Linked DNA regions of Homo sapiens: regions 1, 2, 3 and 4 are each linked to region 5. Evidence: promoter capture Hi-C in 16 types of primary human blood cells and fetal thymus (Javierre and others, 2016). All regions are on one chromosome and are shown on one strand. Each heading gives the region's core, a stretch centred on a gene start or on the middle of the fragment in contact. The rest is flanking DNA. Distances are from core to core; before and after follow the strand shown. Region 1 overlaps PRLR (prolactin receptor). Region 2 overlaps PRLR (prolactin receptor). Region 3 has its middle 14 kb from the start of PRLR. Region 4 overlaps PRLR (prolactin receptor). Region 5 holds the start of CAPSL (calcyphosine like).

Region 1 (5,252 bases), core at 2,665-5,164, 790 kb before region 5:
TTCACCACACACACACATACACACACACACATGCCCAACTCCTATCTAAACTCAAGGGCCAAGAATGGGAAATGATGTTGAGGAGGAGAGTAGGATGCTGAACTGAGCTCCACTCTCTCTTCCCAAAATTATCCCATCTACCAAGCCATTAGAGGTCAGTCCATTTTGTCCTACCATAGGTAACTGCTCATACAATTTTATGTTTAATAATTTCTTAAATATCAAACCAGCCAGAAAGGACAGCAAAGATTTAATGCAATAAATCCCACTTTTGTGAGGCCAGTTACTGTACCACTGAAATCTCCCTGAGATTTGCTGCATACTCTAGTATCATTGCTTCCAATTGTTCATGAGCAATATCATTGCCACTTCTCCCCTCATTTCTGGAAGCATGAAATGCCTTCTCAGATTCACAGAGGTCTGCTATATTTCCATCTCAAGAATTATAAAAACACAATTTTAAACAGCAAATTTCTTGCTTTGTTGAAATGAACTGCATATTCATTTCATTCAACCATTTTTCACTCAAAGTAGGAGTTGATAATCAGACAATTTATGTCTTGCAGGACAGAGCTTAACTGGAGGCCAAAGGGTAATGGGACTCATGATAGCTAAAAGCTATGATTGTCCAGTGTTCTCAGGATTCGTTGAGAAAAATGTTTTGTGAAAAATCAGGGCCTCAAAATAAAGAATAAATCCTAAAACAAGAGAGGCAAACTTAAAACAACCACAGTTTAAAAGAACCAGAATATAGAAGAGATTCAAAGTACTATTAATTTTCAGAAGAAAGGCCTTGGTTTATACATGCACAAATATATTCTAGTGCTCAAGAAGCATAGGCAATGATATGCAGCAAAAGAGAAAAACAAACAAAAAAACCAATGATTTGTCAAATTCATATGGTATTTTTCATGCAATCAAATGGAGAACAAGATTGTCACAGGGTAGACGTGTCGGTGGATTCACTATGGTGAATCCATAGAAGAAATTAGAAGAATTAGAAGAAAATTGCTCTTGAAATCTCAGGAGGACAATATATAAAATATATTTATATGTATAATACAGATAGAAAAACAACAGGGAATTAATCATAGGTTTAAGTTTTATACTCATTTGTAAGGCAATGAACTTCAGAGGTGTTTTGGCTAAACTCCCTGAATATGACTACCTTAAGTTGGATAATTTTGCAATCTACCCTTCTAAATATTTCAAACTGTCTTTTAAAAAAATTGCAGTTATTTTTGCCTTAATTATCTAGAAAACTGCTTCAATCTCCACTTCACTTTGTATAATTAATTTTTAGATGTGGGTTAATTATTCCATACAAACCAACAATATTCCAACCATTCAATTTGTGTTGAACTTGGGAGTATAGGGTTTTTGAGAATTGGTGATTTTTGTGCCTGTGTGATGCCAATAAAGGGGGTAGAAGATTCAGTTTCTAGCCTCTCCTAAGGAAAAAAAGGCTTAATTTTATCTGGGGTAGATAGCTACTGTTTTCTGAAAGCTACTATGTGAGCTGAGAAGGGGCAAGGATGGAAGAGAGTGAGCTTTGATACTGAACAGATTTGGGTTGGAATCCAAGCTCTCCTAATTGGTCATGTTAACTTGGACAAACTTTCATTTTAGAAGGTTTAGATTTTTCATCTGTAAGAGAAGAATAACAGCGTTTACCTGATACGATTGTTGCAAGGATTCAATAACTGTAGATGAGCACCTGGTATGAAATACATGCACAATAAATCCTAATTCCTTCCTTCTCTTAGAAACGAAAGGATCTTTGAAGCCATTTATAATAGTTCAAATCTTAATTTTAGGAGACTTTTTTAACTCAATATTTTACAAAAATTTGATATTGCAAACAAGGTAATTCCTAGTTTTAAATGTATCACTAACATTACTTGTACTTAAGTATAAAAAAGAAACAAATTACAGGTACCGTGTAAGTTCTAAGGGGTCTTGGAAGTATATATAGATACAGAATTTTAAATATCAAATATATATATACACAAAAATACACATTTACAGAATTTCTTATATTTTTGAGGACAGATGATCCCTCTTAAGTTTTAGAAGAATGCAAGAAGATGGCCTTGAGAAATACAGCTTTAGGCTGTAAAATAGTGCCTTGGACTCTAAAGCACCAAATAAATAAAGTTCATAATCTTTATCTGAAATTCTTGGAAATCAAAATGTCGAGTTGCTTAGTAACTATTTTAGTATAATTAGTAAGCAGCTCTGTGTACATCTGACCAACTTTAAAAGACCCAAGATTTATTACTGTGGGAGTTAAAGTTATCAGAATGTCTATTATCAGTTTTGTTTGTGGTTTTGAGAGCATCTTTATTTCTTCTGACTCAGCCAAATGTGGTACTCCAGATCTGAGGGTTAACTGGCTGACCTAGTTTGGAAGACCTAAGGAAGCTGTATAGTTTTAGCAAATTAAAACCTTTGATAATAATAATATTGTTATTAATAAAATTGTGCTCCATTTGATAATAACCTTTGATAATAATAATATCCAGTTTTCATGCAGCTCACACATATGATACTGCAATAGAGTAGCAGACAACTAAGCTTCTTATGGAATTTCTGATAAGTGTTGTTGCCATTTTAAGGTGCACTTCAAAAGGTAAGGGTCTCTGCTAGAGAGTCTTAGTGACTCTAATTTATAGTTTTATCATCTACTTGTTTATTTAAACACATCTTAAAGATACTACAATATTTGTAGTGTGTGCCTCCAATAAATGCCATTGTATTTCCTACTATTTGCCTTCAAGTCAGAACTTGACCCAAGATATCAATAATTTAGACCTTTTCAGTGGGATATTTCAAAGCATGATTTGGTACATAAATTAATCGAGAGTAAGAGTGATTTTCTACATAGCCAAAACCACCCAGGAAGATAACTACCTAGTCTTTTTTTTTTTTCTGAGACAGAGTTTCACTCTTGTTGCCCAGGCTGGAGTGCAATGGCGCAATCTCAGCTCACTGCAACCTCTGCCTCCTGGGCTCAAGCGATTCTCCTGCCTCAGCCTCCCAAGTACAGGCGTGAGCCAGTGCGCCTGAGTAGCTGGGATTACAGGCATGCGCCACGACGCCCAGCTAATTTTGTATTTTTAGTAGAGACAGGGTTTCTCCATGTTGGTCAGGCTGGTCTCGAACTCCCAACCTCAGGTGATACGCCCACCTTGGCCTCTCAAAGTGCTAGGATTACAGGCGTGAGCCACCACGCCCGGCCACTACCTAGTCTAAAATAGTATTCTTGCTTCAGTCTATCATAGAGCCCACTTCTTTCTCTTTATTCTTTCTTACCACAGAGTGAGGATTGTTCTATGGTTTTCCATCAGAAACACATTTTTTTCTAATTGAAGACTAAAGCACAAACAGGCCCCAAACAGCTCCTGATGGTTTTTGTTGCGGTCATTGTTGAAATGCAACGATGGGCTCTGCTTTTGGAAAATAAGAGCCTTCTGCCTAGACTTACGCATTCTTTGCAGCCTTGATATCTAAATTTCCTTTAAAACAACAACAAACAGAATTGTGCTGTCAGACTAATTATGCATGATAACTCTAAGATGGATTAAAATGATTTAATTTATAAGACAGTTAATTGCCATGCAGTATTGAATTAAACCATCTACATTTTCTGGAAATACAGCTGCGTGCTTAATAGTGGGTCATAAAGTTAAGGCCTACAAGGGGAAAGATATATGATAAATATTGGAAAGATATTGAAAGACATATGATAAATATTTGACTGACAGTAGTGCATGAAAACCATAAAATGGGACCATAGGAGGTAAGAATAGGAAAAAAAAATCTTATTTCACATGCCTTAGAGGAGACAGGACAAAGTCGGAGCTGAAAGAGACATTTTCTCCCCACAATAATCAATGACAAAGCATCTGAAATTTTAGTTTTCTAGAGTGAATTATATGGTGTTTTGGCGGGGAGCAGCTGCATTCCCTCCAGGAACAAGCTACTGATAGTTGCTAATAGTAGGCATATAAAACATCTTTGTTGGATGGATGAAGGAATGAATAAAATGATTTGATAAAGGGCAAAAATCAGAATTGAGGGGAATTATAGGGTTTCACCACGAGGCAATATCTCTGAGGCTATGGTAAACAATATTGCTATTTACCAATATTTCTAGCTCTCCTTCCTTTCTGGGTACACAGGAGGGCCATGCTTGCTCTACTGAATTTGGGCATGGCTATGTGAGCCATCAAATGTAAGCAGGAGTGATATAATTCCCTTCCAGCTGGTGGTTTCTAAGAGTAGTGTGTGATCCTCCATACTACTCTTGCCTCGTAGCAATGGTTGTGGAATCATGAGTTGATATGGAAAAGCTGTAAGATGGAAGCAGCAGCTTGGATTGCTAAGCCAACAAAAGAACAGCTGCTCTGGAGAATTGCCTAGATTCACAGCAGACTTTGAGCAAGAAATAAACCCTTGTTGTAAGTCAATGCATGGAGGAGGGTATATTTCATAGATGAGCAAGATGACCAAGAATAGCTTGCATACAACTTCTGTGTGAATTTGACACTCTCCCATCCACAGGTGGAGTCTGTCTCCTCTTCCCCTTTGATCTGGGTGGCAAAAGTGATGCTGCATGACCACCAAGACTAGATCAGAAAAGGCCAAGTAGCTTCTCTTAGAGCATCCATTGTCTTGGAATTCTTTTCTCTGCATGCTCCCTCTCAGAATCCAGCCACCATAGAGCCAAGGCTCCTGAGAGGGTTCATGTATAGGTGCTTTTGTCAAGAGCCCCAACTAATCTGAGTCATCCCAGCCAGGCACCAAACATATGAATAAGGAAGCCTCCAGCTGATTTCAGTTTCCAAGCCATTTGAGTGTTCACAGCTGAGAACCCAGACATTACACAACAGACATAAGACCACTGTGTTGTGTCTTATTTCCTAACTCACAGAACTTGTGAGCACAATCAAATGATAGCTGTTTTAAACAAATTTTGGGGTGGTTTGTTATAAAGCAACTAGTTGACCGGAACAAACAGGTTGGGCTTGTTTGTTACCACACCGTAATTTATCCCATCATAATAGAAAGGTGTTTTTCAGAAATTCACAAAGGGTACATAACAAAGTAAGATGAAAAATACTATTTTCAGTTTTTTGGTGTTAATATCTTAGTGGTATCAACCTTCTAGGGAAGTTATACAGGTATAATCCGCGTGATCCATTCTCCTTAACTATAAACCACATTTCCAATGTCTCATTCACGTATGT
Region 2 (5,410 bases), core at 2,581-5,080, 750 kb before region 5:
ACTTCTAGCCGTGGTGTGAACACATCAAATGCGGAGTAGGCACTACCCTGCCAAGTGTCCACTCACTGCAGAGAGCTCCAATTGCTAGAAAAACCCGGCCACCTTATAAGCTCATTTCACTGCTCCTAGTTTTGTCATTTGGAGTAAGGAAGAATCTCCTTCTCCTGCTTTCATATGACAGTCCATTAAAGAACAGACAGTCACCACGTTCCTCTGAGAATTTCTCTTCTACAGGAAACAACATGTAATTAGTTGTCACATTCTCTGGTTTCATCAGTCTGTTTCCTTGTCGCCCCCCAATGGACACCCAGTGAGTTGCCAATGTCTCTTGTCAAAGGTATTAAGACATCACAGAACTGGGTACAGGGCTCTTGATATATCCTGGCCTTAAGTCTCAGGTTCTCCAACAAAGCTGGCAGCCTGTGGTATGCCTTCTGGGGCCAGAGAGTGTGGCATGATCCGAGGTCCTGAGTCTCTCTCTCAATGAGCCCATCATATTGGCTTAACCAAAGCCAGTGGTCTTCAGGACACGGAAAAGGGAGTCCCTTAGGCTCCAGGTTTTTTTCCCTTCAGTTCACACTGGGAGAAGGGTCACAGAGCTCCAGTGAAATCTGGTCCTGTTAGATCATTTGTGGTTGGCTGCAGATGCACATGTGGGCATGTGATAGTTTTGATTTAGATAAAAAGCCCACAACTGAGTGGAGTGTTGAAACCTCAGGGTTATAGACTGGTGTATCTGTGAGAAAACCACAACAAGTATGGTATTTGAAGGACCCTAACATTTTCTTTTGCCAAGTTATTCATTCAGAGCCTAAAAGTTTTCAAAGTATTGTCCCCAACTGAAAGAAACCCTGTGATAACTTGAATTTATTTGTATAGAAGTAACTCTACAGTCGATCAGACTAGATGTCAAATGACCATCTCTACTTAGGGTCTGAATTCCAAGGCATCAGAAAGTTTGCCCTTACCTATAAGACCTTGCTCTTTTAGATTCCTGGGATGATATAAAGAATTCCTGATAATTGGAATAACTGGAATTCCTGATAATTGAGATTCATGATAGTTGGCTGATTAAAAGGTTATCCTCAGAAGAGTATTTGAATTTAAGTGGGAGACCCTTAAGCTTTCAAGATAAAAACTGGCCAGGCACGGTGGCTCACGTCTGTAATCCTAGCACTCTGGGAGGCTGAGGTGGGAGGATTGCCTGAGCTCAGGAGTTTGAGACCAGCCTGGGCAACACGGTGAAACCCCATTTCTACTAAAATACAAAACATTAGCCAGGTGTGGTGGCATGCCCCTGTAGCCCCAGCTACTCGGTAGGCTGAGGCAGGAGAATTGCTTGATCCCGGGAGGAAGAGGTTGCAGCAGTGAGCCGAGATTGAGCCACTGCACTCCAGCCTAGGCGACAGAGTGAGACTCCATCTTATAAAACAAAAGAAAGAAACAAACAAAAAACAAAATAATAACAACCAACCAGACAATCCTACTCAACTAGAATGACTGAATCAGGCATGTGCATGGGATCCATTGCACCACATGGACCCTCGCCTGTTGTGTCTACCTGTAAGGTCAACTCTGCCTGTTTCTTATCCTCTTCCCCTCCTCACAGGGAATGATTCTACTTGGCCAAAGCAGGGACTCACCAAAGCTGTAGGTAAGATGAGGTGGTAGACTTCTAAGCATTTTACATGTGTTTATGCAATCTTTCAAATAACACAAGTATCCACAAGGCAGCTGTGAAGTCACCTGACTGTTACACATGAGGAAAAGGGGTAGTTAAGTTTAGCATAGTGCCACACATATAGTAAATGCTCAACAAATATAGGTGTTACTGGTTTAGAATGATAATATTTTGGCATGACTTAAGCCAAAGTCCACCTCTAGATTATAGCAACAAAGGAAAGTTTTGTTTTGCATAAACACAGTTTCAACCGCTGGAAGGACTTTAGAAAAACAACTTGTAGGACATTGTGAAGCATCCTTTAGCTTTCAGCTCTCCTTGGGCAGGAAGCCCACAGACCAGTGAGTCTTTAGTTTTGCTCTCTAGGCTTGGCCCTTCTCTTCATTTCTGATGCTTCGTCCATACACTGAGAAGGACCAATTTCCATATTCTTCCATCTAAATTCCAGAATGTGTTAATTTCATAGTGGGTATATGTAGCCAGTAGATCAAGTCTCCTAAGAGCTTACCATTATTTAGAGTTATTTTATACAAGGAATGAAATTCTCTTTATTCCACAAGTCTGGCCAGATGACCCCAGTCCCTTCTAAGGTAGTATGCTTTTATTCTCCCCAAACACCTGTTTGATTGAGATGTCAAATAGGAAAGGTAAGTTTCCTAAAAAAAAAAAGCTTCCAAATGAGTTCCCTGAGGTTCTAGGCTTGGGCCTTTTCTAACTAAAATTATGGGCCCAGGGTTTGTGTATCTATCTGTCTGGGGTCCTGAGGAGGAACCCAGTGGGGACAAAAATCCCCATGGCAACGTACTTCTAAAAAACACAGGAGCCTTACAGCAAGACCTAGCTCTGGTTCACTGTGAATTTGCTAATAATTAACTCTAGATCTCTGAGCAGGAACAGTCACATTAGTAGAAGGCAGGAATTCTATCTATACACACAAACTGCTGAGAATTACAGGTGGAGGCCTACTAGGAAATAGAGCAGGTTTCACCAGCCTTGACTAGGTGTCTTTGTCTGAGACCAGCCCATTGATTGCTTGTGGGGAGGGAGTCCGTAGGAGGGAGAGAGTCGTGATTGTATTCTGTGGCGTCTCTTTCTGTTCAGACTATGGGGAGCAAGATAAAAGTGTTCCCAACCATATTAGTGTTCTCTGATTCGTCGAATGTCGGGGTGGAACGGGACCTGAGAGACCATGGACCTCAAAACACCCACTGAGCCTTGCTGGGCTCATCTATCTAGGAGACAGTCGCCATATATGGATCTACAGCCTTTAAGTGCACACTGGGCACGGGATGTACCACATAGACCCTCGCCTATTGCACCACATTGAGGTGCACTGTCAGAGTGAAATACACACTGAGTATCAAAGACTTTGTATGAAAAAGGGAATGGAAAATATCTCACTAATAACTATATTATCACACATTGAAAGGACAATATTTGGGATATATTGAAACAAATAAGATCTATTAAAATGAATTGCACTGGTTTCTTTAAAAAAATTTTTTTTTGCTAGAAAATATAAAGTTACATTTGTAGCTTACATGCTATTTCTATTGGGTGTGCTGTTGTAACAAGTACACATTCCCTCTCCTCGAGGTTGTCCCTCAGCATGACGCTGACTGATGTTCATCAAGACTTACTGTCACACTGGCTAGTGCTGCCAAGCCATCTAGACTACAACTTATTCTAGATTCACCCTGGAGAGATCTTAGAGGGCATATCTTCTTCACCCAGAGAAGGCATTTATGCCTTATTGAGGCCTCAGTTTACCCAGAGGAAACAGCTCTTCCCTATGACCCTGAGAGGTGCTGGTGCTACTCAAGGCACCTGTGTTCTGGTGCACCTGGCCCTTTAACTAAAAGATAATGGGGCAAAGGAGAGGGTGGGGAGCAAGTGTAAATACCTCATTGTGGAGCAGAGGCAGCTACCACCCCATCTGAGCTAGGGTGGCCCTGGCTAACTCATTTTGCTCCACCCTTGATTAAGCAGATTTTTACAATGTTCTTGCTTAAAAATCTATTTGATTCACTGAAAAGTAGTTATAAGTGGTTACACTAGGAAGATGAATACTACTCTTCTGCACCCCGCTGTGTGATAAACCTGCCTGCCCTCAAGAAGCAGATCCTGGCTCTTGCTGGGTGGGGTTGGTGCCAGCCTACACTAGAGCACCCGCGGTGGCATGTGGCTAGGATTATCAAAGGGAGATTGGAGGCAGCTGGTGTGTACCAGGAAGCGCACCAAACCAGCAAAGTTCTGGCCCCTCTATTCAGTAGCTGCAGGATCCTGGGCAAGCCGGTCTCCTGATCAGTAAAATGGGTATAAGAGTGCCTACTTCAGAAGGGTGCTGGTCAGGCATGGTGGCTTACACCTGTGATCCCAGCACTTTGGGAGGTTGAGGCACGTGGACCACTTGAGGTCAGGAGTTTGAGACCAGTCTGGCCAACATGGTGAAACCCCATCTTTACTAAAAATACAAAAATTAACCAGGCTTCATGGTGCATGCCTGTATTCCCAGCTACTAGGGAGGCTGAGGCTGAAGAATAGCTTGAACCCTGGAGGCAGAGGTTGTAGTGAGCCGAGATCACGCCACTGCACTCCAGCCTGGGTGACAGAGAGAAACTCCGTTTAAAAAAAAAAAAAAGAAGAAGAAGGTTGTTATGGGGAGTAAATGTGAGAATTCTAACACTATCAACAGATGAGAGCTCACTATTACTGATAAAATGTGTCCCAGGTGGGAGTCAAGACGCCAGAGTTCTAGGTTCTTTGCCCCTCATTTAGCTCTATGGCTGGGTGCAAGCCCCTGACCTCTTCAGCCTTAGGTTCCTTATCTACAAAATGGATTATGAAGATTCCTCTCAGTGTGAAGAGTTCATGATTTCCATGACCCCAAGCCCTTCAAATAATAGTGAAAATCAAGGAAACTGAGCCCAGAAAGGTCAAACCACTTGTCTGAAGCCGCATAGCTTTGGGGCAGCAGGATCAGAGTAGACATCCTGCTTCCCAGTCCAGGGTTTTCCTGCTGGAGCACAGGAGCCTCCCTGTTTACCCAGTGAAATGAGATGCAGGAATTCAAGAGGCAAGAGGGAGAGAGCCCCATTGCCTTGGACTTGGAGGTAAGGGAGTCCATGCTTCTGAGGTGAGTCGGTCAGCGGCAAAGTCAGCCCCATCAAAATCTCTCTGTGGACACAAATTCTTCTGGTATCTCCCTCAACTGTTAACTGCATATCCCCAATCATTTTCCCTTGGCAGCTCAATTTAACTTTGGCCTATTGTGTCAGCAACCTTTTTTGTCAGGCAGGTGCTGTCTCCTTAATCTCCTGCTACTGCAGTCACCTGGGGCAGCCACCCAGCTCCGTCAGGAACTTGCTAGGAAGAAACTAGCCGTGCCTGGAAAGTCGGGCTTTTCGAGTTCAGCTCTTGCTAATTTCAGCAGCTTGCCTTCTGATATTTTATTCCTCTTTACCTGGAATTCATTTTGGGCCATCTGATTTGTTTAATCATCACATAAAAGATCAACATACCTTATTTATTTTTTAAAGGACTGATTCTAATCGGTGAGCAAACACTTTTACACTCGTCAGCTGCTCCTTGGGCAGCCTGGGATCAGCCCACGTTGCACATTCTCTAAGAAGCTTTGTCTCCAAAGCTTAGCGTGAAGGCTCTGCTTCAGCCCACTGAGTGAGCGACAGACATGGAGAAGTTTGCTTTTGTGAGCTCATCAGGACAAGA
Region 3 (5,028 bases), core at 1,196-3,695, 690 kb before region 5:
GCATCCCAGGGATAAATTTCACTTGGTCATGGTGTATGGTCCTTTTAATATGCTGCTGAATTTGTTTCACTAGTGTTTTGTTGAGGATTTTTTCATCTATATTCATCAGGGATATTAGCCTGTAGTTTTCTTATCATTTTATCTGGCTTTGGTATAAGGGTAATGCTGGCCCCATAAAATCAGTTTAGAAGTGTTCTCTCCTCTTAGATATTTTGGAAGAGTTTGAGAAGGAAAACAATAAATAAATGAAGCTTTCACCACTGAATTTTCACCATTTGAACAGCCTCAGGTGACAAGACCCTGTGGCTGGAGGCGATTGCTTCCTTCTGGCTTCAAGGTGAAGACTTCACTGAGCTTTGTTTTCACTGGTGCCTGAGGTGTGGGAATTAGGGAGAATCCCAGAGTCTTTTCTAGAGTAAGACTGTTTTGATGTCTTTGCCACTGTTTATTTTTCTAACTGAACTTACAAATAGGGAAGGTTATTTTTAGTGACAGAAGCAAAAGCTCAATAGTTCTTCTGGGATTTAGATGTGGGAACTCTGTTCCTCCTACTTCTCTCTCCCTAAGCTCCCTCTCTTTTCTCCCAAGGACATTTTATCTGCACTCAAGATAATGTGATATGGAGGAAAAAAGCACTGGACTGGGACCCAGAAGGACTGAGTCTTGTCTGGACTGACACCAACGAGCCATGGGTTTGCTAGAGCAGAGGTGGCAGAGTGGAGTGGTAGTGAGTAGCAGGAGCGCTGCAGACAGACTAGCCACTGAGTGTCTGCTTCCACTACTTACTGGTTATGTGTCTTAGACAAATTACTGACCTTTGTGTTTTATATTGTCCTTAAGTGTAAAATGGGAATCATAAATGTACCTACTTCGTAGGACTGCTTCAAGTGTAAGATGAGGTAATTGACATTAAAAGCACTTAGAACTGTATGAATCATGCTCTTACCTTTCTGGTTCATACTGTTGCTGACAAGCCAATCATCTAAGTGATGTCCAAGTGCTGGAATCTCATCACATGCAGAACATTCTGTAGACCTGAGGATCATCTGATGCAGAAAAAAGAAGGCAAAGTAGGCTGGTGTTCTTCAGTCGTATAAAGGATTGTTGCACAAAAGAGATGTTTCTTCTGAGTTGCTTGGAAAGTTCGTTGAAGTTTAATTCAAAATACTGGAAATAATCCGTAGTGTTTCTATACATTAGTAATGAATTATCTGAAAAATAAATCAAGGAAACAATCTTGTTTACTATAGCCTAGCAAAAAATACTTGAGAATAAATGTAACCAAAGAGGTGAAAGATCTGTACACTGAAAACTGTAAAACATTGAAGAAGACAAAACAATGAAGAAATTCTATAATCAATGGAACTTGGGAATGAAAATCACCATTTTGCAAAACAGTGAGTCTTCATAACTGAAATAATTCAAGCCAAAACAGGCTCTTTGTTTGGATTAGCGTAGAAGGTATTCTCTTCTTTAAAATGTGACTCTAGAAAAGCAGAGAGATTCCTCTTCTCCCTGTGACAGCCTAAAAGTTATTTCTCAGTCTCCTTACCACTCTTACTGCTGTCCTGATCCCAGCAAGGGGAATAGTTCACTTCTTTTCCAAACAGACATGATGGTGTCAGTTGTGATCAGAGCTGGTAGAGCTATCTTTCAGATGAGGAAAGTGATGCCAAAAGTCTTGTATTATGTTAGAAACAGCAAGTTAAAAGGGTGAGATCAATAAATGGTTGGAAACCTAAAAGCTAGGATATCCTTGGAGCAATAAGAGTTAGTTAATAATGGAAAACCAGGAAATTAACACAGAAAGCTTAGTTTAATAAAACCACAGGTAAGCGTTGGTAGGCTATGGAAATATTCACACACAGTGCATGCATACTGCTATCTCTGTCAGTTTCTCTGCCTGCCATTACCACATTTCTTGACTTTCAGTGGCAAGATGTACTTGTGAATCAGGTTTCCAGCTGTGGCAATCCTCAATCACTAATGTGTAGTCATAATATCAAATATCTCTCATCTTCTATCCCACTAATCTATCTTTTCCTGCTTATACCACTGGTTTTCATAGTCACTTTGGGCTGCTATTACAGAATACTATAGAATGAGTGGCTTAACCAACAAACATTGATTTCTCATAATTCTGGAGACTGGGACTGTGAGATCAGGGTGCCAGCATGGTTATGTTGTAGGTGAGGGCTCTCTGTGTGGTCGGACAGCTTCCTTCTTGGATCCTCATGTGGAAGAGATATCTGTGGTATCCTTCATCTCCTTATAAAGACACTGATACAATGATGGGGGCTCTGCCCTCATGACCTCATGTAAACCTAATTACTACACAAAGAACCAACCTCCAAATACCATCACCTTTGGGATTAGGACTTCAACATAAGAATTTTGGGAGGATGCAAACATTCAGTCCATAGCACTGGTCTAGTTACTCTTGCCTCTGAACCTTGCACTGGCTCTTCTTGTTGCCTGGAACATTCCTCTCCCTCATATCCACACGTCTCTTTTCTTACCTCCTTCAGGTCCTTTTTCAAATATCACTTGTTTCCTCTCAGTGATGACTTCCCTGACCTCCCCATTTAAAATGACCTCCCATGGCCCTCACTGTCCTCTTTCTCTATTACTGTATGCCATAGCACTCATCACCTTCTTTCACAGTTTTAGTTTCCCCAGAAGTAGATCTTGTGCCAGGATTTCAAGTGTAAGTGGTTTATTCAGGAGATGCCTTATAGTTATTCCACCCAAATGGAGAAGGAGCTGGGATATTTACATGCCAGCTTCCATTAGTCATAGATTGTGGGCTCTTTGGGAGTGGAGTATTGATTTCATGGCACTTCTCCTCAAGGTGGGCAAATAAGCCTTCTGTAACTTTGGAAAAAGACCTAAGACCTGATGTAGATGCTGATCCCTGGAATATCAGGGAGTGTACCAGAATGCTGAGGTCCAAGGATGTGGGTGGAGCACTGACAATATCTGCTATATCATCTGATATACTATATAGCTTACTATTTATATCTATATATGTGTGTGTATATATATGACATATTTATATCATATATACATACTTCCAGAATGTAAGCTTTATGAGACAGATATTTTTGCCCATTTAGCTCACTCCTGAACTTAGAATGGTGACCTGGTACATGTTGGTGTTTAATAAATGTTTGCTGAATGAATGAATGAATGAATGAAAGATGTAAATGAGAGATTTTAAGCTGTGAGTTGTGATCCATCCAACAGGTCATAAAATTAATTTAATGGCTCCTGACCAGCATTAAACAGATAGAGAAACATAAAAAAATCAGAGTATACCGCAGGTGGTAAGGGTAATACTATTGTAAAAAATATTTCACTGCAGTTACTTAATATGCATTTTTCTTTTTTTTGAGTCAGAGTCTCATTCTATTGCCCAGGCTGGATTGCAGTGGCGCGATTTCGGCTCACTGAAAGCTCCACCCTCCGGGTTCACGCCATTCTCCTGCGTCAGCCTCCTGAGTAGCTGGGACTACAGGCGCCTGCCACCATGCCCAGCTAATTTTTTGTATTTTTAGTAGAGACGGAGTTTCACCATGTTGGCCAGGATGGTCTCAATCTCCTGACCTCATGATCTGCCCGCCTTGGCCTCCCAAAGTGCTGGGATTACAGGTGTGAGCCACCGTGCCTGGCCAATATGCATATTATAATTATTAAATTAAATAAAAATATACATGTTATATCTATTTTGAGTCCTAAAGTAAAATGTGTTTTTCACTCTAGGTTGTGATACTTGACCACCATTGATCAATTTGCTCCTTTTAGAGACAAGGAGATCAAGGCCCGGAGAAGTGAAGGCTGTTCCCAGGTCACAAAACGGCCCAGGCAAAACAGGCCTCATGACATCATAGCTCTTCTGGCTGTCTAGCAAATGACAGACATTGGAAATTTATTTTATGGAATAGAGGCCTCCAGTTAGGTCTCCTGAGCCAAAGGAAAGCAGATCCTTTGTATACATCCAAAAAGCCAAGTTGCAAACCCGTGAGTATCTGCTGTTCTATGGGTGGCTGAGAGATTGGCCTGGCTACCAATATGGCTTCAGTCATAGCATCTGCTTGCCAGTGTGCCCGTGTTCTGTGCATCAGAGTTGAGCTGGCTTCGCTATCTGCATCTGAGCACAAAACACAGTCTTCCCAGGGCTTGCCTAGCTTGCACTGCCCTCAATACAGTCATTAAAAAAAAATTGACATGATGGGGTCATGTCCCATTAAAGAGATTTTCTAAAGCATTATCTTTATTATTGTTTAATTCCACTTTTAAAATTCAGATTAAGAGCAAGAACCTGCTCAGAGCCAGCCACGCTTCTTGCTTGTCATTTGCTCCCTTCTCTTACACTTCCTACACAGAAAAACAAAACAGGTGGAAGGCATTTTCCAGCCTCAGGGCCATGCTTCTGAGAGAACAATGCCTCCTATATTGCCATCTACAGGGTGTTGTGCAGGTTTGCTCTGTAAACCGGCAGTCCTTTCTGAAGCCAAAGGAGGAGTTGCTGGTAATAATAAAGTCCATGAAGTCACAGCAGTGTTCTGCTCATTCATGTCACAAGGAAATGTTTGGGGGTTTTGTGGAACACATTTCCAGCCAGGACCAGAGGCACAGGGGAGCTCCATTTAATGCCATCTCAAGGTGGGCTGGGGCTAGGGTTAGGGTCTTCTTTAGGCAAAAAAGGAATCAGAGACACCTTGGAAACCCAGTTCATAGGGACCAAAAGGGCCAGAATGGGCCGTTTGTGAAGTGAATATATACTCCTCAAATGCTCCTTTCTCTCCGGTATTACAAATCCATTAATCTTCAATGTTCATGAGTAGAGAAAGAAGGAAATGGGGGAAGGGGAGGGGAAGGGAGGCAAAAGGAGGGGAGAGGAAGAAAGAAGGGGAGGGGAGGAGGAAGAGCAGAGGAACAAATGTGTTTATCTTTCTTATTTAGCTGCAGCCTGCTGCCCTTGCTCCTTTTGGTTGGCCTCTTTTTAGGTCAGGAATGCAGACTCGG
Region 4 (4,997 bases), core at 807-3,306, 810 kb before region 5:
CCCGAAAGAGACGCTGAAGTCCTCCAGTACCTTAGAATGTGACCTCATTTGGAAATAGGGTCCTTGCAAATGTAATTGGTTAAGATGAAGTAATAATGGAGTGGGGTGGGCCCTTAATCCAATAGGACGGATGTTTTTATAAGACAGAGAAGAGACACACGGGGAGGACACCTTGGAAAACAGCGGCAGAGATCGGAGTGATGCAGCTACAAGCCAAGGAATGCCAAGGAGTGCTGCCACCACAAGAGGCTAGGGTGAGGCAAGGGAGGACTCCACCCAGCATCTCAGAGGGAGCATGGCCCTGCTGAAACCTTGATTCCACACTTGTTGCCTCTAGAAGTGTCGGAAAATACATTTTTGTTGTTGTAAGCCATCTAGTTGTGGTGCTTTGTTATGTCAGCCCTAATAAACTAATACAGATGATTTATATGTGAGTCAGCTGGATTTGCCTACAAACACCTTTTCTGCAACTTCTTATATGAACCAATTTAAAATTTAATAGTATTTTTAATCAGTGAAAAAAGTTGGATGGTATGGGATTTTGTTGGCCTAATGTGGACACAGCACATGTTTTATTCTAGTGTAGCAGTGATGTGCTGAATCCCTATCAACTCCAAAGGGGATGGCACTAGGTTCAAGAGGCTGAAGAAGAGATCCAGAGCTAGAAAATGAGACACTGGGGTTTTACTGGGGGTTTACATACAGGGGAGAGGGTCTAGTGGTGGCGGGCTGGACAGGAGAACTGCTGGTCCAGTGGCAGTGGGCTGGTAAGAAGAACCACAATCGCTGGCAAAAGGCATGCAGTTTATAAAACATTTTCACTTAACACCCTCCCCCTAGCAACCTCAGCCTGGCAACCTTCATTTAACCCCAAACAAAGGATGCTGATCCCCTGTATGGCCCACATTCCCTGGGACGGGCTGGGGTTCAGATGTTCCTCATAGATAAGGAATGAATCTCTGGGATGGCCACTTCCAATTCCTTAGCTTGGAACTCTGAACATATATTTGGGTGCATCTGCCACACAGGGTCATTCTCAGGGTAGGCTCAAGTGAAGTTATCACAGTCAGGAGCACCTACCATACAAGCATCCCTGACCCCTCCAGTGAGAAAGTTGCTCATGTCCTGTGAAAAGCCAGTGATAGTGCTCTGAGTTCACTGCTATGATGTCTTGTTATTCTTTCTTTAAAGGAGAGCTCTGACCACTAGAAAGAGTTTTAAGAATGAATAAGGAGATACAGGACAGACACAGAAACCCTGGAGGACAAATGGTGCCAAAAGGATACTTATACCTTTGGCATTTCCCCAGCAGGAGGGGAAGGAGGAGTAGAGGGAGGTAGTCATAGTACCTCACCCTTCAATCCTCACTCTGGCTTTGATGTTGTCATTAGCATGTATCCCCAGAAAAGTCACTTATCTCTCTCAGGGTTTCTATTTTATTCAGGGGTAATTGATTTCCACTTACCAACCTATCCAAAACACATGGAGGAGAAAAAGGGAAATAAATTAAACCTTCATGTTCTAGGTCTTTAGGAAAAGCATTTTGTGGTCTCTAAAGTCTCTAGTCTCTTGGTTCTGTGTACAGAACACTCAATACCATCAACATCTGCATACTCTAGGCTCCTGACCCCTCTTTCTAGAACACAGGCACTATATTCAGAAACCTTTCCAGCCCAAAGGAAATCTTGTGAAATCTGGATATATATTATTTTATTTAAAAAAATCCCAGACATCATGTTATTTTACTCCTACCTATTTCAGTATATATCTCTAGCAATTATGACCATATTCTTATGTAACCCGTGTTCTTTTCACATCCAACAGAATTACTAATTTCTTGGTATCAAATATGGATATGTTTATATTTTTTGCAATTCAAAATAGGAAACACATTAGTCCTATTCAAAATAGGAAACACATTGGTGAATTACTCTAAATTGTTGAAGTTGAAGGGACCTCAGGGAAACAATTTCTGTTAGTACCTAAATTTCTCAAGGCAGAAGGCTACATGTCCTATTGTTAAATATCATAGGACATTCGTATGCAATGAGGGACTTTGGGGATTATCCAGCTCAACTTCTCATTTGATAGATGAGGATGCTGACACCCTGTGATGGCTAATTTTGTGTCAACTTGACTGGGTTAAGGGATGCCCAGATAGCTGATAAAATATTATTTCTGATGTGTCTCTGAGGGTGCTTCTGGGAGAAACACCCAGTACACTTGGTATTGAATCCATAGACTGAGTAAAGAATGTCCACCCTCACCAATGTGGGTGGGCTTTATCTAATCTACTGTGGGCCTGAATAGAACAAAAACATGGAAGGGGTGAAAATTTTCCTTCCTTGAGCTGGGACATCCCTCTATTCCTGCCCTTGGACTTCAGACCCCTGGTTCTTAGGGCTTTAGACTCTCAGACTTATACCAGGCCTCTCTCTTGTTCTCAGGCTTTGGCCGTGGAGTGGGAGCTACACTATCAGATCTCCTGGTTCTCAGGCCTTCAGAATAAGACTGAATTACACCACTGGCTTTCCTGGGGCTCCAGCTTGCAGACGGCACATAATAGGACTTCTTGCCTCCATAATCGTGTGAGCCAATTTCCATAATAAATCTCCTCTCATGTATACCTATATATATCCCATTGGTTCTGCTTCTCTGGGGAATGTTGACTAACACAGGCCCTGAAAAGCCATGTAACACCTGGTGAGTCAGAGACCAAAGCAGAATTGTAACCCACCCATTTCTGACTCCCATTCCACAGCAAACTGATTCTTTAGGAATGGAGATGCCATAGACTTTCTTAGCAGCCAAATTTGTTATTTAATTCCAAAGTTATTGTCTCTGGCTCACTATACTCCCAATTAACTGCACTTTAAGCTCACTTCCTCCATGGAAATAGAGACCAACTAGCTTGAATGTTCTTCCTTCTAACCTGTCATAGTTTTGAAGACCATCAATAAGTTGTGTTTCAGGCTTTTCCCATCAGATTAAGCAGTTTTCAATCTGATCCCTTCCTCACAGCATGTTTTCTCTCCTTAAAGACTGTAAACAAACAAATGAAGAACCTGTGGGCTACCAAAAATACATCTGTTGGGAGCAAAAAAATGTCACAGTCTCATTTTTGCCAAGTGGTCATGAGAATGTGCTGGCAAAACAGACCACACTCAGAAACAGGCCCTACTGACCTACTATAGCCTAGTCTTTTCAACCATGTTTATTAAAAAATGAACAACAAATGGAAAACCAAACATTGTATGCTCTCACTCATAAGTGGGAGCTAAACGATGAGGATGCAAAGGCATAAGAATGATACAATGGACTCTGGGGACTTGGGGAAAGGTTGGGAAGGGGGTGAGGGATAAAAGACTACAAATTGGGTTTAATGTATACTGCTCGGGTGATGGGTGCACCAAAATCTCACAAATCACCACTAAAGAACTTAGGTAACCAAACACCATCTGTTCCCCAAAAACCTATGAAAATAAAAAAAATAAACAACAAACAACAAAACCCTTCACATATAAAGAGGAAAAGAAATCAGGAAGCTGAGATTGGGACTTGGGTGAGCTCTTGAAAGATTTACTGAGCAGCTGAGATGTTGCTTGAGTGGCTTGATGGCTCCTCTTTCCTTGGATTATCACAGCAAGATCTGGCGCTGTGAAGATCATATTGCTTTCTGGTCACTCTGGTGAATAAGGGCGGGGAGTGGGGGAGGGGGTTGGTGGGCAGTAAATAAGTCCGGATATCTCCAGGGTCCAAAGTTGTGTTTGGATAAATTTAAACACCAAGTTACAAAGTTGAAGATTAAACTAACAACCACTCATCAGTGGATAAAAACATTGCTTGACTACACGATGCCAAAATGCTGGTCTGTTGTTTTGACTGAAGTAAGCAACTACCCGGCTGGTTGCCTTCTGGCATGAAATTAGAGCACAACCTCAATGAACTGGGATTTAATTTAATTAACTGAAAAATAAAAGGTGTCTTTTGTTACATTCTACTGGTGGAAAAGTAAAGTGGCAAGAAAGCAAGCAAGGATCAGGGCTTTATTAAAATCACCTCCTAGACAGTGAGTCTCCAGTGATGCACATTGGAATCATCTGAGAAACTTTAAAAACTACGGCTGTTTGGCTCCCATCCCTAGATGTTCTGATTTAATGGCGTGGGGTGCCGCCTGAGGGTTAAAATTCTAATGTGGAGCAAAGTTTGAGAACCACTGCTCTAGATATTTCCTGGTGCTGGTGTAACGCAGCCCAGTCATCTAAGCCATCTATAACATTGGACTGAGGAACATGTTTTTTTTCCCCTTTTAAATCTACTGACTGAAAGTAGAACAATCCATTCAAGGCTACATAAATAAAAATGTAATTTAATGTCATTTAGAGATTTGTGTTTTTTTTTTTTCTTAGAGAGTTCTATCCTGTTGCTTTTGAAATGAAGACTTAGGAAACAAATACTTCTTTATCATTCAGTCCGAAAAAGAAAATAATTCTGTCCTAGGGAAATCAGCTAAGGAAAAGGCATGAGGAAGGGAAAAAGAGACAGAGAAGGAATGCAGAGAGAACCAGGGCACAAGACACAAACCAGATCTCTCAGACCTGCCTCCTGTCCTGCTTCTCGACTTCCCCAGCACACGCATGTCCCACTGTCTTGTCCTCGCGGCCTCTCCACTCAGCGTGTACGCGTTGGCTTCTGGTGAGAGAGGAGGGGAGAAAAGGCAGCCAGAGGGAGACACAGCTGCCTCACCTTTGCTGAGCTGTTGGGTTTTATTGATCTGTTTTGTGTCTGCACTTCGGCCTGTTCTGTCCTGATTATGTCCACTGCTTTGAGTCCTGACCCTTATTTCTGGTCCCTGAGTTATTTTTTCCTCGTGGTTCTGCAAAACCTCCTCTTAGGCTTCTGAGGGTCTACATGTGTTTGCCACACCCTGGAGTTTCAGATTGACTCCAGTATCTTCCTGTCTTTCCAGGTGCTTTGTGGCTTCTCTAGCCAGAACC
Region 5 (5,799 bases), core at 2,766-5,265:
TGCCAAGCCACAGTTTTTCAGTGACCATATCCTTCACCAAAGGCAGCCCTCCCTACAGAAATGCTTTGATTGAGATATGAAAACCACTCCTCCTTTTGCCCCTTTAAGGCTATGGGTAACACCTTTCTTGTCCCTTCTGACTGTGGCATTGCTGGGTGTCTCATTATGCTTTCTCTATATTCCTTATTCCTACCCACACTTCTGTGAATTGTCCTTCATTAAACTCTTTTCTGTTACTACCTTTGAATGTGCCATCAATTTCCTGCCAAGACACTGATTGGTACAATATCTTTATCCTGGATGGTATCTGATTTTGCATAAGGAAACCTACCCCTCTTGCAGTCTTCTCAGATGAAAGCACCTCTTACCCCAAATTCTAAGTATTAAGGAACCTCACAGATTTTAAGATGCACCCTGTCACCTCCACATCATGACCTATATCCACATCCTTCTTTGAAGCACAGCCTAGCTGGACAAACTTCCTATGTTTCTCTTTGGTTCTGTCAGTTTATAAATCACTGACACTCTGAATGTTGCCTCAGAGATGTACTCTCCATTTCAAGTGGTGTCATCAATCTGGGAAAACCCAGAGCTCATCTAGACAATCCATCCAACAGGCAGCTATGAAGTTCCTGGAGCTCCTTGATTTCTACCAACTCAACTCCATCTGTTTGTTGTCTCGGCATTCCCTCCCAACCAAATCTGGTCTCCTCTGAAAGTCCAAACTTCTTTTTTTTTTTTTCTGAGACAGGGTCTCACTCTGTTGCCCAGGCTGGAGCGCAGTGGTGTCATCATAGCTCACTGCAGCCTCAATCTCCTGGGCACAAGTGATCCTCCCACCGAAACCTCCCGAGTAGCTAGGACTACAGGTGCACACCACAATACCCAACTAATTTTTTCTTATTTTTAGTAGAGACAGGATCTTGCTATGTTGCCCAGGCTGGTCTTGAACTCCTAAGCTCAAGCAATCCTCCCACCTTGGCCTTCCAAAATGCTGAGATTACAGACATGAGCCACGGTGCCCAGACTGAAAGTTCAAAATTCAAGATTGACTTTATCTGCAGTGTTCAGTTCCATTATTCCAACTTGCTTCTGACCTTATGGTACCTCCAGACTTTTGGCCCTACATTTTCACCCCAGCCATTACCTACCTCATTCTCCCTTCTGGATCTACTTCCTTTCTTATCCATTTTACACACTCTGCGCATCTTTCTGACCATCTGGTACCAGTGCCTCCCTTCTTGACCCTCATTTTTCAACCTCCCACCATCTCAGAATAATAGCTAACTTGGTTCAATTTGCCCATGTTCCATGTACTTAACGGCAGACTGAAGTGCAGCTGAATAAACCCACATGCCAGCATGGACAGGTGTCACTGTATTTATTCTTTAACCACAGCTAGGCCTTCTGCAACACACAACTCAACTTTTATATGATGTTGGTCAGGTTCTTATTCCAGTCTCCTCAGAGGCTAATCCAAACTTTTGCCACTCCAGACCTTGCCTTGAAAGACCCAGAAAAAAATGGAACCACCAGTTATGAACAAATTCACATCATCCTCCTCCAAATCTATAAAAGTATAGCGCTCTAAGGGCATCCTGACTTCATCCTCCCTCCTCCCTCCTCCAAGAGATTGCTGAACTTCCTCCCATCTAAGGATGCCCTCTCTACCTGCAACACAGAGGCCTACCCCTCTAAGATTCTCAGCCATCAGTTATGCCCTTTTCCTCCTCTCCAGCAGCTCCTTCTTTTAGTTCATGAATCCGCTGTGGTCCCTCAGTCCTGGACTCCCTCTAGCTATCACCCCTCAAAGTCAAACTATTTTAAAGAATTTCCAGATTTTCTACTTTCTCATGCCCCATTCATACTTCGGTCCATTTCAATATGGTCTTCACCCTGTCATTCCAACAAATATACTCTTCAATAAGTCATTGCTAACCTGATTGCCAACTTCAACAGTCATTAGCCCTTAGTTCACTTCTCCAACTAGTTGACTATTGGTCATTCTTCCTTTTTAACACCCTTTCTCTCAATGGCTATAAATCTAACTCCCTGTCTCTCCTCCTCCCTCTTGGATCTGTCCTATTTTGTTTCTTCCTTGTCTTCACCTGCTTCTTAAGTGCTGTTTCTCAGGCTTCAGTTATCTTTCTCTTCTCACTATTCCACTATCTTATGGCAATCTCAGTCATATCCCCTGATACAATGATGACTAACAAATCTTTATTCCAATGTAGGCACTCTCTGGAGCCAGATTTCTCACAAAACATGTGCACTTGGATGACCTACAGACACTTTCAGTTTAATGTTCCAGAGCCAAATTCATTACCTATCTTCCTTACTCTTTGCTTCAGGAAACAGCAATACCATTTACCTGGGTCATTAACTGACCATTATCCTAGACTCTTCCTAACCCTTTACATCCAAATAGCAGCTAAGTCCTATAGAGTTTCACTACCTTGACACATCCCGCATTTCCATTCCCTCATCTCCATTGCCATGGATACTGACTCAGCCTAGGACATGGTCACTTCTCATTTCCACCATTGCAAATGTCTCCTAGTTGGTTTCCTGCCCCTAGCTTTGCCCTCTGTACTTTGTCTTTCAAAAGACTGAGCAATCTTTAGAAAATGAAAACATGAACTTCATGATATAGTTTAAGACCCTTTGATGGTCCCCCATTGCATACAGGTAAAATGAAAGTTCTTAGCATTGAATTCATGCATTGGCCTTTCCTATGTCTCCAGCCATTTCTAGTAATTCTCCATCCGTTCAAAATCTATCCTGCATCTCTACTCACTCACATTCCCCAAACACACCATAGCATTCTGTATCTCTGTGCCTTTGTACATGTAGTCACACTTGCAGGTACACCTTCTTTTTCCTGTTGGCCCAGAGAAGTCCCACCCATCCTTCCATGATCATGTGGTGAAGTCCAAATAGCATTCACATTGCAAGACAATGTAATTCGTTTTCGAATTACTTGCCCTGCTAGACAGACTATAAGGTCCTTACGAGGTAGAGCTGTATCCTTTGCATTTACTATCACCATATCATCAGGGCTTAGCAGGAGGCTATTTTATTGCTATTAGAATTTATCATTGTCATTGCTATTGGGTAATTTTTATCAGAATATAAATACAAATGTATGCCTGAAATTCAAATCTCAATATTTAAAACTTTCAATAACAAAATAGATTTTTGTGGTTGTAGGATTTGAGGAAAAAATAAGTCAAAAAAAAAAAACAGGTAAGAATTTCATCTACTTAATATGGTTTAAATACTCCCCAGACTGAAGGCAATAGAGATGGCTGCCTGGGTCATTGGTGTTGTCCTTTAATGAGAACGTAAAGGACCCCCTCAAGTCTCTGATGAATCAAATCAACTATTTGATATAATTTTGAACAAGCCATGTATGTACACTTTAATAAGCATCCTGATTTTTATTCTGATTCTCAGTTGTCAGTGTATAGCAGAAATAGCATAAGTTTAAGTATCAGACAAAGCAAGGTCTGAATGAAAGTTGAAATGTTTTATTGCTTTGTGACTTGGAAATGCTGAACCTCCCTGAAGCTCAGTTTTATCAGTGGTCATCAGGATCGTTAGAGCAATTCACCCAAACCCTTCACACTCAAATACCTAGTACCTAATGACTGCTCAGTAATGTTTACTTCCTTCCCCTTTACTGAATGAAATTTATTTTTGTGCATTTTTATCTAAGCATTTTTTTTGCAAAGATTACAAAAATCTTTCCCAGTACCAAGCTCTTTCCTCTTGCACTGACAGCCTAGTGATGGCTTCTCTAGTCCAAGAACTCTCAAAAGACTTTTAGATTTTCTTTTTAGAGAGTAACATCTACTGTCTTCTTTTCTCAGCTAAGACATACCAAGAAAAAAAAAAACATTAAATCATAGAATAGATAAAAACATTGATTTACCTTAAATGCTAACCTTTTGCCACCAGTTGCTTCGAACTGAAACTATGGACGCTGTCTCCTGCATCTAGGAAAACTGGTCCCTCCCAAGCCACCTTAGCCTCCTCCCTCTTACCTGTCTTCCTCAGGGGCCCTGGTCCACTCTCTTAGTATTAATTGGAGGACCTGGGATCACTGCTGCAGATTCACAGCCTGATTGGCTCAGCTCACTGTCAATCTCTACTCTGGTTCTGCCTTTTCTCAAGTTTACACTCCTGTTGCCTAGGAAATCTCAGTGACTGTGAAAGCTCAAGCCATTTGCACTGGGAGAGAAGCCAGCCAGAAGTTTTGCTGGCAATGGTTTGGTTTCTAGAACAGCATCAAAACTTGTCTCCCATGTTTTGTAAGGTAGTATTCAGCACATTGTCTTCTTTCTTTTAGGCAGCACCTTCCTGTCCTTCTGTAGTCCCCAGAAAGCTTACTGCTAGGGTGCCTCATTGCCAGGTGATACTTAAAACCACAACTCTTGGGAGCAGGCAGGGGTAATTATAGGTGATTCAAGGTTCTCCCTCCTTCTCTGCATTTGCAGAGGATGTCATTTCTGCTGTTTTCATCCTTGGTTTCTTCTCTTCTTTTCTCTTTTTGTTTCTTTTTACTTATGTTTTTCACATGTTCCCTAGCAGTTACTTTGCCAGATAAGAAGAAATCTAGTGGCTTATTTGGAGGAAAATATCTACACTATGCTCTCTTTCATTGTGTATCTATGACATCCACCCTATCCTTGTCATTCCCACTCCTGCACGTCCTGCTTTCAGGAGCAGGCAGGTATAATTAGTGGTGATTCAGACCTTACACCTCTCTCTTTCTCTCTCTCTCTCTGACACACACACACACACACACACACACACACACACACACACACACACACATCTCTGTATATAACATAATCCTGGCTGTGTGCAACATCCTTGCAGTATAAGAACTCACAAAACGGAATAGATGCCAGGCACCCAGCTCTGCAGACTACTAGGCAAGTTCTTTCATGGATTTGACAAGGGCTTGGGTCCTTTGCTATATCTGCAGGGAGTATACATAGTAGCTATTTCATCCTTTTATCTGAATTGTCTGAAGAATTGTCCCAGAATTAAGCAATTAGAACTGTGGTTCTTCCAGGGCAACCTCAGATGTCTAATGTTTTCTTTTCAGTGGTTTAACCCACAAGATATCACGCATTTGAAACTTTTAAGAAGAAACTTAATTTCATCTGTGAATGCAGAAGCAAATATGAGGGCATGGGCATTTAAATATGAAGTATTTCTTGAAAGCCACCTACTGGAGAGTAAGTTTGGTGCAATAATTTAAGAAAAGATAAAAAAGAAACAGGAAAATTGGGACAACGGACAGCATGATGGAGCCACCGTGCAAGCCCTCAATAGTCTGCCTCCAGGTTGTGTCAAATAAAGTAAAAAGAACAAAATCTCTGGAGTACTTAAGCAATGCTTTTGCTTGTTTCCACTGCTAGCAACTGGTGTAATTCCAAGGGTTTTACCAGTTCAAAAAACTGGATCTGGGTTTGTGGTATTGGGTTTCTGACAATCAATATAAAATATTGATTATATTTTAAGGCATAAGTACTCTTTCCAGTGGTAAAGAAGACAATGATAGTCTATGGTGTAATACGGTAAAAAGATTTGTAAAATATTACTACTGGATTCCTAATCAAATATTCATAAATGGCAAATCTCTAGGTAATCATGATAGCTTAAAATATTTTAGTCAAACTAATAAATGTAATGAGGATGACTGCTTGTAACTGTGGTAGACAAAGTAAAGAAAAATGATGAACTCAGGGCTTGAAATTCCAAGTTCAAGCTCCACATAAATGATCT

What was found. Contacts are between HindIII fragments. The CHiCAGO score rates a contact against its expected background, and 5 or more counts as called.
Region 1: a fragment that was not itself captured here is called in contact with the fragment with the promoter of CAPSL in region 5 in 7 of 17 cell types (total B cells, total CD4 T cells, naive CD4 T cells and 4 more); the score reaches 6.3 in total B cells.
Region 2: a fragment that was not itself captured here is called in contact with the fragment with the promoter of CAPSL in region 5 in 2 of 17 cell types (erythroblasts and endothelial precursors); the score reaches 6.5 in erythroblasts.
Region 3: a fragment that was not itself captured here is called in contact with the fragment with the promoter of CAPSL in region 5 in 2 of 17 cell types (M2 macrophages and M1 macrophages); the score reaches 6.2 in M2 macrophages.
Region 4: a contact is called between a fragment that was not itself captured here and the fragment with the promoter of CAPSL in region 5, in 1 of 17 cell types (total CD4 T cells). The highest score is 5.0, in total CD4 T cells.

The regions. Positions count from the first base shown.
Region 1 is chr5:35,146,943-35,152,194 of GRCh38, forward strand. All of the region lies in intron 1 of PRLR (prolactin receptor), which reads right to left. Among named protein-coding and RNA genes, the nearest start is that of PRLR, 81 kb to the right of the region's middle. The HindIII fragment of the contact is 2,678 bases long and covers 2,576-5,252 here.
Region 2 is chr5:35,183,092-35,188,501 of GRCh38, forward strand. All of the region lies in intron 1 of PRLR (prolactin receptor), which reads right to left. Among named protein-coding and RNA genes, the nearest start is that of PRLR, 45 kb to the right of the region's middle. The HindIII fragment of the contact is 2,962 bases long and covers 2,350-5,311 here.
Region 3 is chr5:35,242,141-35,247,168 of GRCh38, forward strand. No RefSeq gene overlaps it. Among named protein-coding and RNA genes, the nearest start is that of PRLR, 14 kb to the left of the region's middle. The HindIII fragment of the contact is 1,275 bases long and covers 1,809-3,083 here.
Region 4 is chr5:35,130,699-35,135,695 of GRCh38, forward strand. All of the region lies in intron 1 of PRLR (prolactin receptor), which reads right to left. Among named protein-coding and RNA genes, the nearest start is that of AGXT2, 85 kb to the left of the region's middle. The HindIII fragment of the contact is 6,322 bases long and covers 1-4,997 here.
Region 5 is chr5:35,934,607-35,940,405 of GRCh38, forward strand. It overlaps CAPSL (calcyphosine like), which reads right to left and starts at 4,016. Exons shown (of 5, transcript NM_001042625.2): 1 at 3,935-4,016. CAPSL-DT (CAPSL divergent transcript) reads left to right here and starts at 4,195. Exons shown (of 2, transcript NR_104630.1): 1 at 4,195-4,318; 2 at 5,117-5,387. The HindIII fragment of the contact is 5,426 bases long and covers 1-4,385 here.